Linked DNA regions of Homo sapiens: region 2 is linked to region 1. The links are contacts of gene promoters, found by promoter capture Hi-C in blood cells and fetal thymus (Javierre and others, 2016). All regions are on one chromosome and are shown on one strand. Each heading gives the region's core, a stretch centred on a gene start or on the middle of the fragment in contact. The rest is flanking DNA. Distances are from core to core; before and after follow the strand shown.

Region 1 (7,827 bases), core at 3,868-6,367:
TAAAATATTTAAGTAAGGTCTGGCTTTCTTTACTAGTTTCATCAGCTACTGAAAAAAATTTAAGTAATTTATCTACCAGTAATATGGTTCTGTTTTCTCTTTCCTCATTTTTGTTCTTTTAGGACCCCAAACGTCATTTGGAGGAACATGTGGATGTACTTATGACCTCAAATATTGTCCAGTGTTTAGCAGCTATGTTGGATACTGTCGTATTTAAATAAAGCAACGAAAAACGCTATTAATGATGCCTTCAGTGTATATTCCTCTGTTGTTCCTAATGCTCAAAATCAAGGGACCTCTGAAGGTGTACTTGGCTAAATGTAAGACATCTGGCATCATTTGCAGCACTGTAACACCTTCAGTCTCAGTTGTGCAATTACTTCTGTTTCTTTAGTCAGGGTCTTTGCAGATTCTAAAGTTATACATGAATACATCAAAGTGGACAAATTTTGTTAAGATCCCATTTAATATTTGAAAAAATCAGTAGCACAAATATATTTTGATTGTCACTTACAAAATAAAATACATTTACAGTCTATGCCTCCTGAGATCTTTTTGGCAATGGGTGGGATTGATGGAATAACATTTGACAGTGGTCTAGAAATCTCACACAAAGATATGTTTCCGTTTGCATTTTAAGATCTTACAACACATAAAACATCAGTGTGATAAAACTTCACAGATGTATAATGATTTCCATTAATGAGTGGCTACCTAATTAGTGAGTAACTCAGAAAAAATGTTGACATTTTATTAGCATTTGTCATAAGCTAAATATTGTATACTCACTATCTTATAAACATACTTTTAGGATTTTGGAAGAGTACATTTACAAAGAAAAGGGAGCAATTTTAATTTAGACTTTATCATGTTTTAAAAGAGTACATTTCTACCAACAGTTTTGAAACTGGGAATTGGCTGCTGCAAACTCTACTGGACTTTCATCTAAAATAGCCACAGAAAGTATATGTCTAAAAAGCAAAATGAGAAAAGTAGTCATAATGTGAGTTTAATATAAGCTTATAAGCAATAATTTTGCTATTGTTTGGTCTCATCTTTTCTAAATTAGGACTACCCAGTTTTCTAATAGAGAAAAAAAAATGGCTAATACCAACTTCTAATGTGATGTACAAAAGTAACTGCCCCTGTTATTACTTACGGTTCAGAACCATACTGATTATACCATTTGTATGGCAAAAGATACAGAGACAAAGATCTAATTCTAGTCTGCACCCTTGTGAAAATATGGTGAGAGTATTACTGTAGCTTCATTAAAGGAATGTTTTACATGGACTTGCAATTTAACTTAACCTACTAGAACTGTTATGAGTGCTGTGATAGATCAAATTACTGTCCTACTGGAACAAGTCTAGGCTCTTATTGGTTCCCTAGTGAAGTTACCAGAAACTGAAAGTCAAAATGGCTTAAATTCCCAGTATGTTTCACAGTATCTTTTTTGGTGGAGTAAGAAGTATTCTGAGCATTTCTTGCTTGTCCTGTGGTTTACTGTTTCAGATATAGTGACAGTATATTTTATGTAGGACATGTAATATGTATTAATTTAAGTTGTTGGGATTACATTTAACCATTTAAAATTCAAATATAAGTGGAAGTTAGTGAAATTTTCTTTTGCCTAATTCAAACTTGTGTGCAGGCTTTTTGGATATGATTTTTCCCTTTGCAAATAAGATTCTATAACTTATTTCACAGATGTTGTTAATGAGTGCTAGTCAATGATTTTTTGGGGGGTACAGTGCCCTCAGAAGAAGGCCTTAACATTTCAAGAACTATTCTCAATATTTGGGTTGAAAGGGTTTTTTTGTTTTTGTTTTTGTTTTCTACTTAGTCCTCTGAAAATATCCTGAGTCCTGTGACTGGAAAGGCTTACCTTGCCTGTTTTTTTGCCCTTATTTGATCACCCCATCTTCCTGGACTCCCTATAGCCACACACCACTTACTCTCACTTAGTTCATGTTGGTGACATTCCCAGTTTCAGAACCTTGTCAAAATCTTTGCTAGCAAAAACCTACATTACTTTTTGTAGATTTGGAGTCGATCAAAATCAAGATGCCCTAAGAGGCAAGGCTCAGTGAACACCTTTGTCTTGGAATGTACAGCTATTTTCGCAGCAGCCTGATGTCCCAGGCCCAGTTAGGCACTGAAAAGATGCATTTAATCACAAACTTAGTAAGCTGTTTAAGACTGTATATGTATGCGCGCACATGTGCACGCAATTACCCCTCCATCATGCAGAGGTAAAGCAGCTCTGGAAACAAAACTGTTTGTCTCTAGTGCAGAAATGTCCCTGCTTTTCTCTCAGACTAATACGGGGGCACTGAAAGCTCCGGCCTCACTATTCAAAGTGTCATCTGCCTGGACCAATAGCATCTGGGTCTTATGGAAATTCGTTATATATACAGAAAGCAAGCCCCACCCCAGGCCTATTGAATCATAATAAAGAATCCTGGTGTGGTTCATATACACTTTAAGGTTTGAGAAGCCCTGGCCTTCTTTTAGAAGTACGGTTCACAGGCACATGTGGTGATTCTGAGGAAAGCCTTCATTTTCCTTAGTATATATAAATTCAAGGCATACCCTATATGTGAGCAATCACTGAATTTGGTACTGATAATCCAAAGTGGGTCAGAGAGCACATCAATTCAATTCCTTAAAAACTCTGAAGGAGGTGCACTCTTTCCCTTTTCTATCCTTTAACACCTTAACATTTCAATTTAGCATAAAAAAAAAACAGTTTAGGGTGTCGAGAATGGCAAAGCCTCAAAAAGAGCCCAGGTGATGTCTCACCTCTACACATTTAAGGCTCTGTCCCACTGAGAACGGAGGAAAGTACTGTCTTCCGAAGCACCGGAGGGAGAGGCACTCAGGGACAGAGAAGTTGAAGATGGAGAAAGAAGGAAACAAAAGTAGCCAAAAGTAGTCAAGAGGTCAAAAGCCTCTCATGAGGGCAAATGGCAGTAGAAGGTCAAGGGCAGAAAAACAAGTGTCAAATGGCATCCCCTACTCCCCTCCCCCGCACCCCAACGATTCAACAGCTAAGACTGCTTGTTTATGAAGCTTCCTGGCCAGGAGCTGAGGTTTGCTTTCGAAAGGAAAAATGGGTCTGGCTCTCTTTTTATCCCAGAAAATTGTCTCGGCTTTAGTCTGGGACATCTGGTCAACAACCTGCCCTGCCCAGGCCGCCAGCGCAGGGCCTTGCCCGCGGCGCGTTGATGGAGGCCGCAGCTGGTGCCCTCTGCAGCCAAGGCGCTCAGCCCGCCTGGAGGGGCGCAGTCTCGGCTCAGCGCTGACCGCTCGGCCCACCGAGGCGCAGCTCTGAAAATGCACCACAGTGGCGAAGCGGCGAGTCTGGATAACCCGTCTCCGCCCATGCTCAGGACCCACCCAATGTCCCCAGGCGCTGCTCTCACTCCGGGAGCTGCCCCGGCCCGGGTAGGACAGACGCGCTCGCTCGAAGCCAGAGGCTCCCCCGGCTGAGGTGCCCAGGCCGCTCCTCCAGCCCGGGAAGAGCGTGTGCCCCTGGGGTCTGCGCCAGACGCAGCTCACCCCTTGCTCCTTCAGTCTCCCGGGCGGAGCCCGCCCTCGGGCCGGCCAGCTCTCGGGGCCGAGCGGAGCTCTGGGCGGCGCTCCTCCTGCTCATTCCCGCGCGGCTCGGCGTCCGGGAGGAAAGCCGCGGGAGGGCAGGTCAGCGAGCGCCGGGCCGCGGGAGGCAGCTTTGGGCAGATAAAAAGCCTCTGCCGCTCTTGGCCCTCTGGCTCAGGCCGAGGGCTGGGCTCCTCTGTAGAGCCGGTGCTGGGAGACTTCCTCCCTACACCTCGGGGTCTCTTCGGGCCTCGTGCTATTTATTTGTGCCAACATCTTTTTAAATTGGTTTTTTTCTATTCCTCTTTAGATTCTTTTTCCTTTTAAAAATTATTGGCATGGATGCTTTTTCTCCCCTCCAGATTATATAAACATTAAACACACACACGTACACACACACACACGTTTTCAGTAGCGATTACTGTGTTGACACCACTTCCACTCTGTCTCCCCAGATCAGCGCTTCTGACGAGCCCATTTGCACGGGGACTCGGCCCTCTCTTTTCCTGGCGAGGCTTTTGAACCTGTCGCCAAGCCAGTACCTCAGAGAGAAGGAAATGCAGAGGGACGAGAAGGATGCATGGCGCCTGCCCCCAGTTAGATGTTCTTCAGATAATCTGCAACCAAGTGCGCTGATAAAATATTTAATAAAGAGCCGGTAAACATCACTGCAAATACATTAAGGCATTTCAGCCCGACAGCTTATGATTATTTCAAAACTTAAAAAGGAGATCATAGATTGTCACTGTTTCTGTACTCAACCAAGAAACCGAACCTTCCTGAGGTGGGTGGATTGGTGGGTGAGTTGCTGCTTTTCGCCCCCTCTCCTCCCCCCTTCTGCTTGTCGCTGTGGCTCTCAGCAGCAGGGATTTATTTATTTATGTTTGCAGTTTAAAAGGTGGGGGTGGGGGCGCCGAGGACATGTAGGATCTGCTCACAAAGCACCAGCTCAGGTGTTGTGTGCTTTTGTATTAGCTGGAAAAGACAGACTCTGGAACTTTTACAGGGCGAGAAGAGGCCACCGGCTCGCGCTTTGTATACTTTGCACTTGAAATCGTTACATTCAACTGAATATTTGGCTCATTCAGATCCGAAAAGTCTCCTAGCATCGTCGAATTCCCTCCTCCGCCCCTCCGCTCTAAAGGGGGGAAGGGGGGGAAGGTAGGAAATGTTTAGTAAATTCCACATCTTTGAATCTTCCTAAAGCAGTGGTCACAGAGCTTAAAGGTGACACAACAGTGCTCACGTAAACCAACACACATTCCCCACCCCCCAAGCCAACAATAAAATCATCCCCTTCAATTTGCCATGATCGTCGCTACCAGGAGCCAGGTGATTATCCTAATTAATGTCTATCTAATTAAATTACTGTCAGCAGCTAACCAATGGCAGGAGCCGTTTCATCGGCTGCACAAGCAGCAAGATCAAAAGTGAGCCTTTTCTGATTGCTGCATAGTGTCAATTGGCCAATCTCTTCTCCCAGGGAAAAAAAAAAGTAAATCAAACCTTTGAGAAGCATTTGCTGGTTGAAGTGCTTTCTGTCTAGTGAGGGGGTCTGTGGATTTCTAGTTTATGATAAATAGGACTTTAAAAACCAGGGACGGGAGGGCGAGTGTTCAGGTTCTAGAGCTATGCAGCTGGAGCACTGCCTTTCTCCTTCTATCATGCTCTCCAAGAAATTTCTCAATGTGAGCAGCAGCTACCCACATTCAGGCGGATCCGAGCTTGTCTTGCACGATCATCCCATTATCTCGACCACTGACAACCTGGAGAGAAGTTCACCTTTGAAAAAAATTACCAGGGGGATGACGAATCAGTCAGATACAGACAATTTTCCTGACTCCAAGGACTCACCAGGGGACGTCCAGAGAAGTAAACTCTCTCCTGTCTTGGACGGGGTCTCTGAGCTTCGTCACAGTTTCGATGGCTCTGCTGCAGATCGCTACCTCCTCTCTCAGTCCAGCCAGCCACAGTCTGCGGCCACTGCTCCCAGTGCCATGTTCCCGTACCCCGGCCAGCACGGACCGGCGCACCCCGCCTTCTCCATCGGCAGCCCTAGCCGCTACATGGCCCACCACCCGGTCATCACCAACGGAGCCTACAACAGCCTCCTGTCCAACTCCTCGCCGCAGGGATACCCCACGGCCGGCTACCCCTACCCACAGCAGTACGGCCACTCCTACCAAGGAGCTCCGTTCTACCAGTTCTCCTCCACCCAGCCGGGGCTGGTGCCCGGCAAAGCACAGGTGTACCTGTGCAACAGGCCCCTTTGGCTGAAATTTCACCGGCACCAAACGGAGATGATCATCACCAAACAGGGAAGGTAATACTACATTTTTGGCTGCCGCTGCTCTAGGCGCAGCCGGGGACAAGTGCACCTAGGCTGTGACTGCCGCGGCAGCGACGATTTGGGGTCGGGAGCGGAGTGGAAGGCGCCCTAGAGTTGGCTAGTTTTGGAAAGGGGGAAAGTGGAAGGGATAACCGCCAGGGTGATGTTGGTGGGGGGGACCCCGTTCTAGGAACATAGTGGGAGAGCCAGTCAGTGGCCAGAGGAAGGCAAGAAAAAGGAAGAGCCCTGGCCAGCGGCTGGGCGATGGGAGGGACGCATCAACACTGGCATGCACGGACAGGTGGAGACGCAGGTCGCCAACCTCGCTCTCCACCTGGGCAGTGATAACTGCCACCTTCCCACTCCAGCTCACCCGCCGCTCTCCCTGATTTGGGTTGCACTTCTTTTCTTCTCCCACCACCCTTTTTCTAATCCAGCAAATATTCGCCTATTTGCTGCAAGTACAAGTTTTGCTTTGCTAACTGGCGCCCCGCTTCTTGCATTTAATCTTTAACATTTATGTTTCTTTTTTCCTTGTTTTCTCCCCCCACCCCTTAATTTAAATAGGCGCATGTTTCCTTTTTTAAGTTTTAACATTTCTGGTCTCGATCCCACGGCTCATTACAATATTTTTGTGGATGTGATTTTGGCGGATCCCAATCACTGGAGGTTTCAAGGAGGCAAATGGGTTCCTTGCGGCAAAGCGGACACCAATGTGCAAGGCAAGTCCTTCCAATTAACACATTTTCTTGACACTTATTTAGGTGAGAATGATTAATTAAAGCCTTTGTGGACTGGCTCGAGCGACTTTTAAAACGATCGGCCAATGACTTCTAAAAGGAAACGAGGGGGACAGGGGGACAGACTGAGCTGCGAGAAGGGGGAGGATTATGCAAAAGCTATTTTAATCACCCCCAGTTAATAGGAAGAAAGAATGGCCTAAAAAAGCCCCAGTTAATGGGCTTCATGGTGGAGTAAGGTGTGTGTATGTGTGTGTGTGTGTGTGTGTGTGTGTGTGTGTGTCCTACGTGGTGAGGAGCTGGGACTGGGCAGTGCCAGGGGCATATGTAAACAATGTATTTCTTTCTCTAGGAAATCGGGTCTATATGCATCCGGATTCCCCCAACACTGGGGCTCACTGGATGCGCCAAGAAATCTCTTTTGGAAAATTAAAACTTACGAACAACAAAGGAGCTTCAAATAACAATGGGCAGGTCAGTGGCTCAAGCGCTCGTGTTTTCTCTCTCTCTCACCCCTTCCTCCCTGACATCCAGTTCGTCAGTGTAAAGCAGCATATGGAACTGGATACACGTTTCTTTGCTTCATTAAAAAGACTTAAAAATTGTATTTCCACCCTCCAAATTTATATTAAATCTGTAAAGTTGTTCTCATTGGCAACACCTCCGTCGGCCCAATTTTGGAGTGCCCGACCTTCCCAAGTACTAATACTGATTGATTTTGAGAAGAAACCCCACAAGATCTGCAGGTTGTGGAAATCTTTGTTCCTCCTTACAGGAGGACTAGGAGAAGGGCCCTGAGGATCGGGCGGTCGGCTTCCCCCTTTTTTCCGGTGCCCCGGCTTATCTTCGCTCCCAGAGGTGCGAAAGCCGGTCTGCCCCAGCCAGCCAGCCGCCAGCCAGGCGAGTCCCGCGGTCAGTTAGCCTGGAAGGCGGGCTGCAGGCTGCCTCCGCCGGCCCGGGCGCGCAGCCGGGCGCACACAGCCACGCGCACAGCGACCGCGTTAACACGCCACCCGGCGCTCCCCTTTCTTCCCGCCGGACAGATGGTGGTTTTACAGTCCTTGCACAAGTACCAGCCCCGCCTGCATGTGGTGGAAGTGAACGAGGACGGCACGGAGGACACTAGCCAGCCCGGCCGCGTGCAGACGTTCACTTTCC
Region 2 (7,827 bases), core at 1,628-4,127, 5.1 Mb before region 1:
CGATTCAGTTTCATTTATGAGTGTAATTAATATGATCTTTGCCCATTATAAGGGTTATTAATAATACGGTTAAATAAAAACCTTATAACAGCACCCCCACTGAATCACTCCACACAAGTCAGCTTATTGCAGAATAACAGTTCATTTTATTTACGGTCTCTCAACCAATTTTCAGCACATGTGACAGTGGCCATGTTAATATGAATAAGATTTGAAATAAGGTTTTCTGAAACTGTATCACAGGTTTCATATTCCTTTTAGTCACCGGTTTTGATCAAAAGGTTGATAAGTTTGACTGCTGTGGTTCAGTCTTCAATTTTGGAAGTTACTGTTATTAGCTAGAGGAAAAAAAATGATTAGGCTATTCATAGTACCAGAAGATTGATTTCTCTAAGTAAAAGCCATAGGAACACAGACTTTTAAAAATAATAAGCATTCATTGTAAAATCATATACATTTAATAATATGCCTAGTTTCCATATTTATGGTCCTGTTTCACTAAGTTATCATCAAAATTTATGAATATGTCCACGTAATGCAAGTATTTGTATTCAAGTAACAGAAAGGAGGAAAAGTGCTTATTTATAGCTTCTTGTTTATAGTACCTGCCTTTCTCTCATACATTGCTACTTGCAATCTAATGAATGATGCATTTCTCACCCACACCAAACTTTCCTATAATCATCAAATTCTATAACTATTTTACATGATGCTACATTGGAATGCTTATTTTGAATACATGTTAAGGGAAATTAACTCAAGGAAAGACAAGCACTTGATTTTCTTTTTCTTGCTTTTCAGTTAAGTACAGACAAGGAATGTAATGAATGAATCAACAGTACATATTTTGATGAAAGCAATGTTGAGCATACAAAACACTGCACATTCAAGAAAAGCCTTGCATTTTTCCTAACTCATAACATTGAAAATGAGATTCACAATCTTGTTAGTGTCAGACTATAATCATTCACATTGCTCTACAAATCAAAATAATATTTTTAAAAGAGCAGCACTGCACTTTCAATGTTAAAGTTTTATGTTGTTTTGTGTTTTATGAATGAAATTTTACTCAAGAAGATCCTCAAAGGGATGTGAGAGACATTGAGGCTTTGTTAGTCAAGAACAGAACATGAGAAGGTACTCTTAGATAGTGCATGCAAGTTGGTCTCTTGATACCATTTGAATTGTAAGAAGCAATTAAATACTTCTGCTTACTGAAAGTAAACTTATGCTATCCTGGTCAAACCCCAGGCCACAACTGCTACATGTGTCATGGAGGTGATGTGTTAGTCTCCAGGGAAAGGGTACAAAGGAAAGTGCACATAAAACTTCCGCTCCAGAGGAAAAGAGCCCTGACACCCTGGACAAAGAAAGTTGCCCCTCTGTCCTCCCACCTGAAGGTACAGTGCTGTCCTGGCATGTGACAACAAGTGGAGATTAAAAACAGGAGAAATATCTGGGACAAAAAAATGTCAAAGCCTCAGAGTCACTTACAGTCTTAAAGAGAATAACATTTAAAGGGAAGCCACATTATTAGTAACATGGGCTTTAAAGAGGGAAAAGGTAATTAGCAACATCTTAATTCTGAATTATGAAACTTTCAGCCAAATCTATCATTAGTCAAGTTAGGATAGAAATTAGAATAGACTGTATAGCATTCGGTTTTATCACAAAGGAAAAAACGTGATAGTAAAAGCTTTTCAATCAAAATTTTTGCCTTTTCTAATACTCAAAAAAAGTAGTATCGTAGTCATAAATTTGAAAAATGCTTCACCAAGGATTAGTTTTACACTCACTTATTGAATTCTACCTAGAGAATTAATATAGAAGATGATACGAAAGGAGATGACCACAGTATCAAACATATATCCTATTCAGTGAACACTATTGACATCTGATTCTACATATACTTAGGTATGTATTTTTTACATTATATTTACCGTCCACCCAGATTTTCAGTTCAATTGACAATTCTTTACTAGGGACCCTTTTGTCCCTTCCAAATATAAATGGAGGACAAATTTAAATGCTGCTCAGACAGATTTTTAAAATCTATATTCACTACCCAAGATTCAGGTGCACAAATTCCTTGGCTCCAGAGAGCATAATCATTCCATAGAATTGCTTTTCCTTATTTACTAACTGAGGACCACTGCAAGTTGGAGATATGTGGCACTTATCGAATATATTTTATCATATATTGCTTCTTTTAAAATCAAAATTATCTTTTTTATGAATTCCTCTTTTATGCTTATAGTGTAAAAATCAATAGTAACCTAATTCATTAAAACATTATTCGCATAAGTAACAAGCAAATCATTCATCCAATAAGCAGACTTGGAAACCCCAAATATAAACACCAAAAGCTGAATTTTAGTAAGAAAATATGCACTATTGGGGAAAAAATGCAAGACAGACAGAGCAGTGCACCATACATAAAATGTCAAACATGTCAAAACACTCATGAATACCAACATCTCCCACCACACCACGACCAATTTTAAAGGTTATTTAGGGCTCACACATCTACAAGTGCAGATTTTACAGCAGCGGACTTTATTTTTCTCAGATATATTAAAAATAAGTCACTGATGTGTCAAATGTTTTCTATGTCATTTCCACACATGTGGCCCATGTAGAGAATTCTGCCCAGCATTTCTGAGAGCAGGACAATTACACAGAACACAGACTCCTGGCACCGAATAGATTCATTATGGATTTGTTAGAAGCTTGTTTTTAACTGTATCAATTCAGTATGCAGGGAGGATAATTAGTCAAAAGACCAAGAAAGCAAATGTAGCTATCTTCATTCCTCAAAAATAGAAACCCCTGTTAGGGTCTCCATAATTCAACTTTTCAGAACTTCATTTCAGAAAGACACTTTGAGAACATGTCACAAGGCTTCCTTGTCCCTAAATCACTGATTATGAATTATTTCCGGATAACTGCAGACAAGTAAGTCTTATAAAACAAGAAGCATAACACATGCAGAACATACTTATCCTACTTCCAGCCCTCAGATAAGTGAAGCTTAAATTAAATGTCAAAAGACGAACAAAATCTATTGTATAAGCAAACAGCTGATCTAAATCCACTATGTTTTGTCTGTCAAGTATGTATATTCTAATAAATTTTATAATATAATAAGACTATTTTTGCCACCCTTTGACCACACCAAGTTAGATGCAGACAGTCTTCTGAATAAATATTACTCTCTGCTTGACTGTCTAAGCAAAATCTATTTATACCATTTGTTAGACTGTGAGAGTAGCTCTTAAGAAAATGTTAATAACAGCTAAACACTGTCTACCACAAATATAGAAGAAGTAGAAGAAAGAATAAAAGGTTCATGCATAGCCAGCTTTTCATTTTTACAAAGTGGCCTGCTCAGGACTGTGAACTAACTAATATGCAATTTGGTTTTCCTGATAGGAAACCTAGAAGCTTGCTGAAAACTCACATGATTAATATAAGGGAATTCAAACAGCTTGAGGATGAAAAACAGTTTTCTTTTTTACTACTTTTAATATGACTTTCTCAATGGCATAAACACACGCAGCAATCATTCCCACTCTTTTCTTGGGCAGCAAAGCAAGCAACTCAGAACTCCTTCACCCATAAACTACGAAAAGCAATGAAAATAATCCCTTCTTTAAAATTTCAGCGAGAAGAAGATTATGCTATTATCACTTACCCCACTGTGGTTTCAGGTCAATGCTCCCCTCCAGAAGTCTGAACATGCCTGAAGCAACATCCTCAACTCTCAGCAGGTGAGAAAATCTTTAGTTAGTTTCTGGAGAAGCAGAAAGGTACAATCCTTCTGGGACAGGCAGTGCTAAAGCAAGGCACTTGTAAGTTCATATCCTGGCTCTCAGTTCGAATTCCAACTCTTCCATGTACTTATAGGCCAAGATAATAAACGATACCTCTCAACCTCATCTCTTCATTTGTAAAATGGAAATAACAGTGCCAACGTCATATTTGGAGTTGAGATGATTATATGATATGATATCTGGAATTGCAACATGTAGTAGACAGAGTTATTGTAATGGAGGAATGTCAGAAACCATGGAATGTGTCCTCCGTCTGCCACCTGCTTCTGCCCTTCACAATGACCCAAATCTTTGAAGGAGTCCACATCACCCCTGCCTAAAGATTGCAGCACCTCTTAGGAAACAAGCTCTCTGACTAGAATGGAATTATAGGAAATGCAAGTTTCCATGCCAATGATTTTGTTCCTTTTGACTCCTTTATGACACCTTGAAACATCTGTGTGGTCCTCATTAGCCCAGAGCTTCCCATACTTAGAGCCACACTCTCCTAACATAGTCTTGCTATGGCCTCTATATCCAACTTTCACCTTATACCTACCTGCCTGCCCAGCACCCAGCATCCTCCATGTGCCCTTTTTATTCACTTCCATAGATCTCTTCTTACTTTAAACTCATTCACATTATTGTTGGCACCCTGGCCATTTTAGTCCTCTCCTTCTCATCTCTGCCTTCAACTCTAGGACTCTGATTAAATAAATCCTCTAAATTGCCTCCTCCTCTTCCAACTTATCAGTCCCTGCTCACCTGATCATTCACAGTATGGTTCATTATCTTTATCCATCCCTATCTCTACCCATTTCCCCCAAAAGCTTTTGCTTCCTCCTTCTTGTTTGGCAATAGCATATAAATGAGAAGGCCTGTGACATGGACAATGGGACATTCACTACCATCCCTTTTCTCTAGCTTTCCTCTATGCCTTTTTTGCTGTTCACTCTCTTCCCAGGTACCAGGTTGCTGAGGAAGATGAAAAGGGGGTGGCTACATGTGCTTATGTGCTTGTCCCCCTGGCCCTTCCTTATGACACCCACCTGGCTTCAAGCAGATAACAGGCCAGAGGATAAAGAGATACAGAAGTCCATTGGAGTGGTGACCAAAAACGAACAAACCAGAGTGAAGAAAGAGGACTGGCCAGAAAACCACAGTAGTAGGCCAGGCATGGTGGCTCACACCTGTAATCCCAGCACTTTGGGAGGCCAAGGCAGGTGGATCACCTGAGGTCAGGGGTTTGAGACCAGCCTGGCCAACACTGTGAAACCCCATCTCTACTAGAAACACACAAAAAAGAAAAAAAAAAAAGCTGGGTGGGGTGCCCGCACCTGTCAGGGAGACAGAGGCTGCAGTGAGCTGAGAACACACCACTGCACTCCAGCCTGGGCGACAGAGCGAGGACTCCATCTCAATCTCAAAAAAAAAAAAAAAAGAAAAGAAAAGAAAAGAAAGAAAGAAAAAGAAAAGAAAAGAAAACCACAGTGCTGAGATTCCCTTATCAGTATCTCTCAATAAAGGCAGCCCTTTCTCTCACTTCATGTACAATTGGTCCTCAGTAGTGACACTATCAACCTTTTTAACTGAGACCCCCCCATAAATATATTTCATAGTGTCACCCAAGAAAAATTGCAGCAAACAATGCTTAGACGTCTTATATTTTTGCTATCCTGCAAAGCCCTCATAATTTCTATTCTATTATTCTTTCATTTCTTTAGAAGAAAATTCTGATGGCAACCCAATATAATATCTTTGAAAACCACTAATGGGTCAGGACCCTCAGTTTGAAAAACACTGGCCTATTTGCAGCTTATTGATGAGGAGTCCTCTCTCTGTCCTTACCCTTCTCGAAATCCCAATTTAATTTGAGTCTGTCAAAACAATCCTCTTGTCCAAGCTTCCAGAGCCAAGAAATTGTGGTAGACTCAATCCCTCTGGAAGTCCCTCTAGTACCCGATGAAAGACTTCTCACACTCGCAGCAGCCGCCCTCTACTGTACCAGGGACGTCTCTAGCAGAAACTTGGGCATTGTATCTGCTAGAACGGGTGACACATGTCCTGGAAATCCTAGTTTATCTAAACACAGGTTGAGATAGAAATAAGAAAAAATGGGAGTGAGAAAGATTAAGTGTGGGAAGAAGAAATGAGGAGAAAAGCGTTGAAGTTGAGCTCTGCTAGGATCCAGGTGCCGGCTCGGCGCTGTGTCTAGTTAAACTCGGCGCGACAGGGTTCAGCTAAGCCGAGAAGAGGGCAGCGAGCGGCCCGCAGTCAGCATCTTGTAGAGAAGAAGGAGCGCTCCCAGCCGCGGGAAGATAAGCGTACAGGCGGCCCCAAGGCCCCTACAGGCGCAGCCCTGATCTGGCCACTTGACTAGACGCTCGCTCCAGCGCTCGCAGGCCTAGGGCTCATTACATGCGTTGCGAGGAGACCTGAAAGCAGGGCGGGAACGCACAATCTATCTTCAGAGCTTTGGGTCGTGAGCACACGTGTGGAGCATGGTTGTGGCATGGGCGTCTGGGCCCCTCTCCTAGACCTCCACGAGGTGCGGACGCGCCTCTGCCCCGCCCTTTTGTGCGCCCTCACCACTAGAAAAAGAGTTTTCCCCAGTGTCGCGTGGGAGGTCGCCCCAGTCCAGCTCAGCGTTCCAAGAGACCAGAGACTGACCGGAAATCGTTGGGTGCAGGGAGAAGCAGGAGACGCGCTCCGCCTCCTGTGCTCGTGCCCTAGCGCAACAGACGCGACCTAGAGGCGACGGCAGCCTGTTGCAGCCTTCGCCCTGAGGGTGGGGGGCGGGGGGGTGTAGAACAGCTGAGGAAGACGCAGGGAGCAGCTGGGGAGGAAAGGGAGGGACACCGAGGAAACAAAGTTCACCCAAGTGAATGCGTCCTAATTGCTCCAAGGCTCTCTCCGCAAAGTCTACGACTGCAAGCCGCAAAGTCAAACTACGTCTCCAAAACGCAGTGGGCAGAGCAGGAGGGCTTGTGTCTCCATTTTCGCCGCAGGGCGGATCGCGGACACAAGTCCTCTCCAGTAATTCCGAAGCCTCGAAATAAGACTATGCTGGGAGGAGGGGTTGGGGGGTGACTAATAAGAAGGCGTGGGGGTGGGGGTGGGGAGTACGCGGCAAGAACCCTGCTTTCTGGAATTCTCCCGCCACTGTCTGCAGGGCCCAGAGCGCACTTCGCGGCTAGGGAACAAAATTGCCGCTCTCTTCGAGCGCCCCCAGCGTGGGGTGGGGCCCTGCTTTCCCGCGTCAGGACCGCCCCACCAGGCGCCCTCCGACGGAAGCTGGACTTTTCCTAAGGAAAGGCAAAGTCAAAGTCGGAGGAAAGATCTTTCTTGCGGCCCCAGCTGTCGCTCCTAATGGTCTCGGGGAACATACTAAAGGAAAATGACTTTAAATCACAGTCTTGCCATCCTAAATAGTTATGTGCAATATTTTGGTTTCTAGCAAAATTTAAAAGTAAAATGGGGATTTCCATATGTTCATTTTATTATTAAAAACGAATTACTAAAAAGTGATGACCTGTTTGGAATTCATATCTTGCTTTACGAGCAGTCAGCCAGTATCGACTGAACACAATAAATGCAGGGGTGCGAAACGTGATTGCTCGGGTTCGAGTTCTGTCGGATGCACCGATCTAAGCAGAACCTTTCCCGAAGACTTGGAATTGGGTGCGCTTTTTTTTTTAAGTTGTGGCTGAGCCCTATGGGGAAGAAGGGTTAACTGGGCGTCGGCTGAGACCCCAAACCCTCTTCCTCCTCCATGAGACTCCAAAATTGAGTCAGTCCCAGCCCATAGTTGCCTGGGAAGCTTGGAATCCTGAGAAATTCCGGGGTGCGGCCACTATGCAAGCATTCCTATTCTGACAGCGGGGACAAATGGAGAGGGGACCTTACAACCTCCTTTGGAGAAGAATATATGAGAAACTCACTTCCAGACCTCTATTCAATAGTGAAAATAATACTGAGAAAAAGTTTTAAAATCTCCAAGAATAGATACTCTCCT

The links. Contacts are between HindIII fragments. The CHiCAGO score rates a contact against its expected background, and 5 or more counts as called.
Region 2: a contact is called between a fragment that was not itself captured here and the fragment with the promoter of TBR1 in region 1, in 2 of 17 cell types (total B cells and naive B cells). The highest score is 7.9, in total B cells.

What each region holds. Positions count from the first base shown.
Region 1 is chr2:161,411,180-161,419,006 of GRCh38, forward strand. TBR1 (T-box brain transcription factor 1) reads left to right here and starts at 5,118. Exons shown (of 6, transcript NM_006593.4): 1 at 5,118-5,923; 2 at 6,497-6,651; 3 at 7,022-7,143; 4 at 7,713-7,827. The coding sequence starts at 5,232. It overlaps PSMD14 (proteasome 26S subunit, non-ATPase 14), which reads left to right. Exons shown (of 12, transcript NM_005805.6): 12 at 123-538. The coding sequence ends at 221. RefSeq lists enhancers at 3,333-3,482, 5,244-5,866 and silencers at 3,533-3,702, 3,773-3,822. The HindIII fragment of the contact is 4,993 bases long and covers 3,074-7,827 here.
Region 2 is chr2:156,313,733-156,321,559 of GRCh38, forward strand. No RefSeq gene overlaps it. Among named protein-coding and RNA genes, the nearest start is that of NR4A2, 15 kb to the right of the region's middle. The HindIII fragment of the contact is 301 bases long and covers 2,728-3,028 here.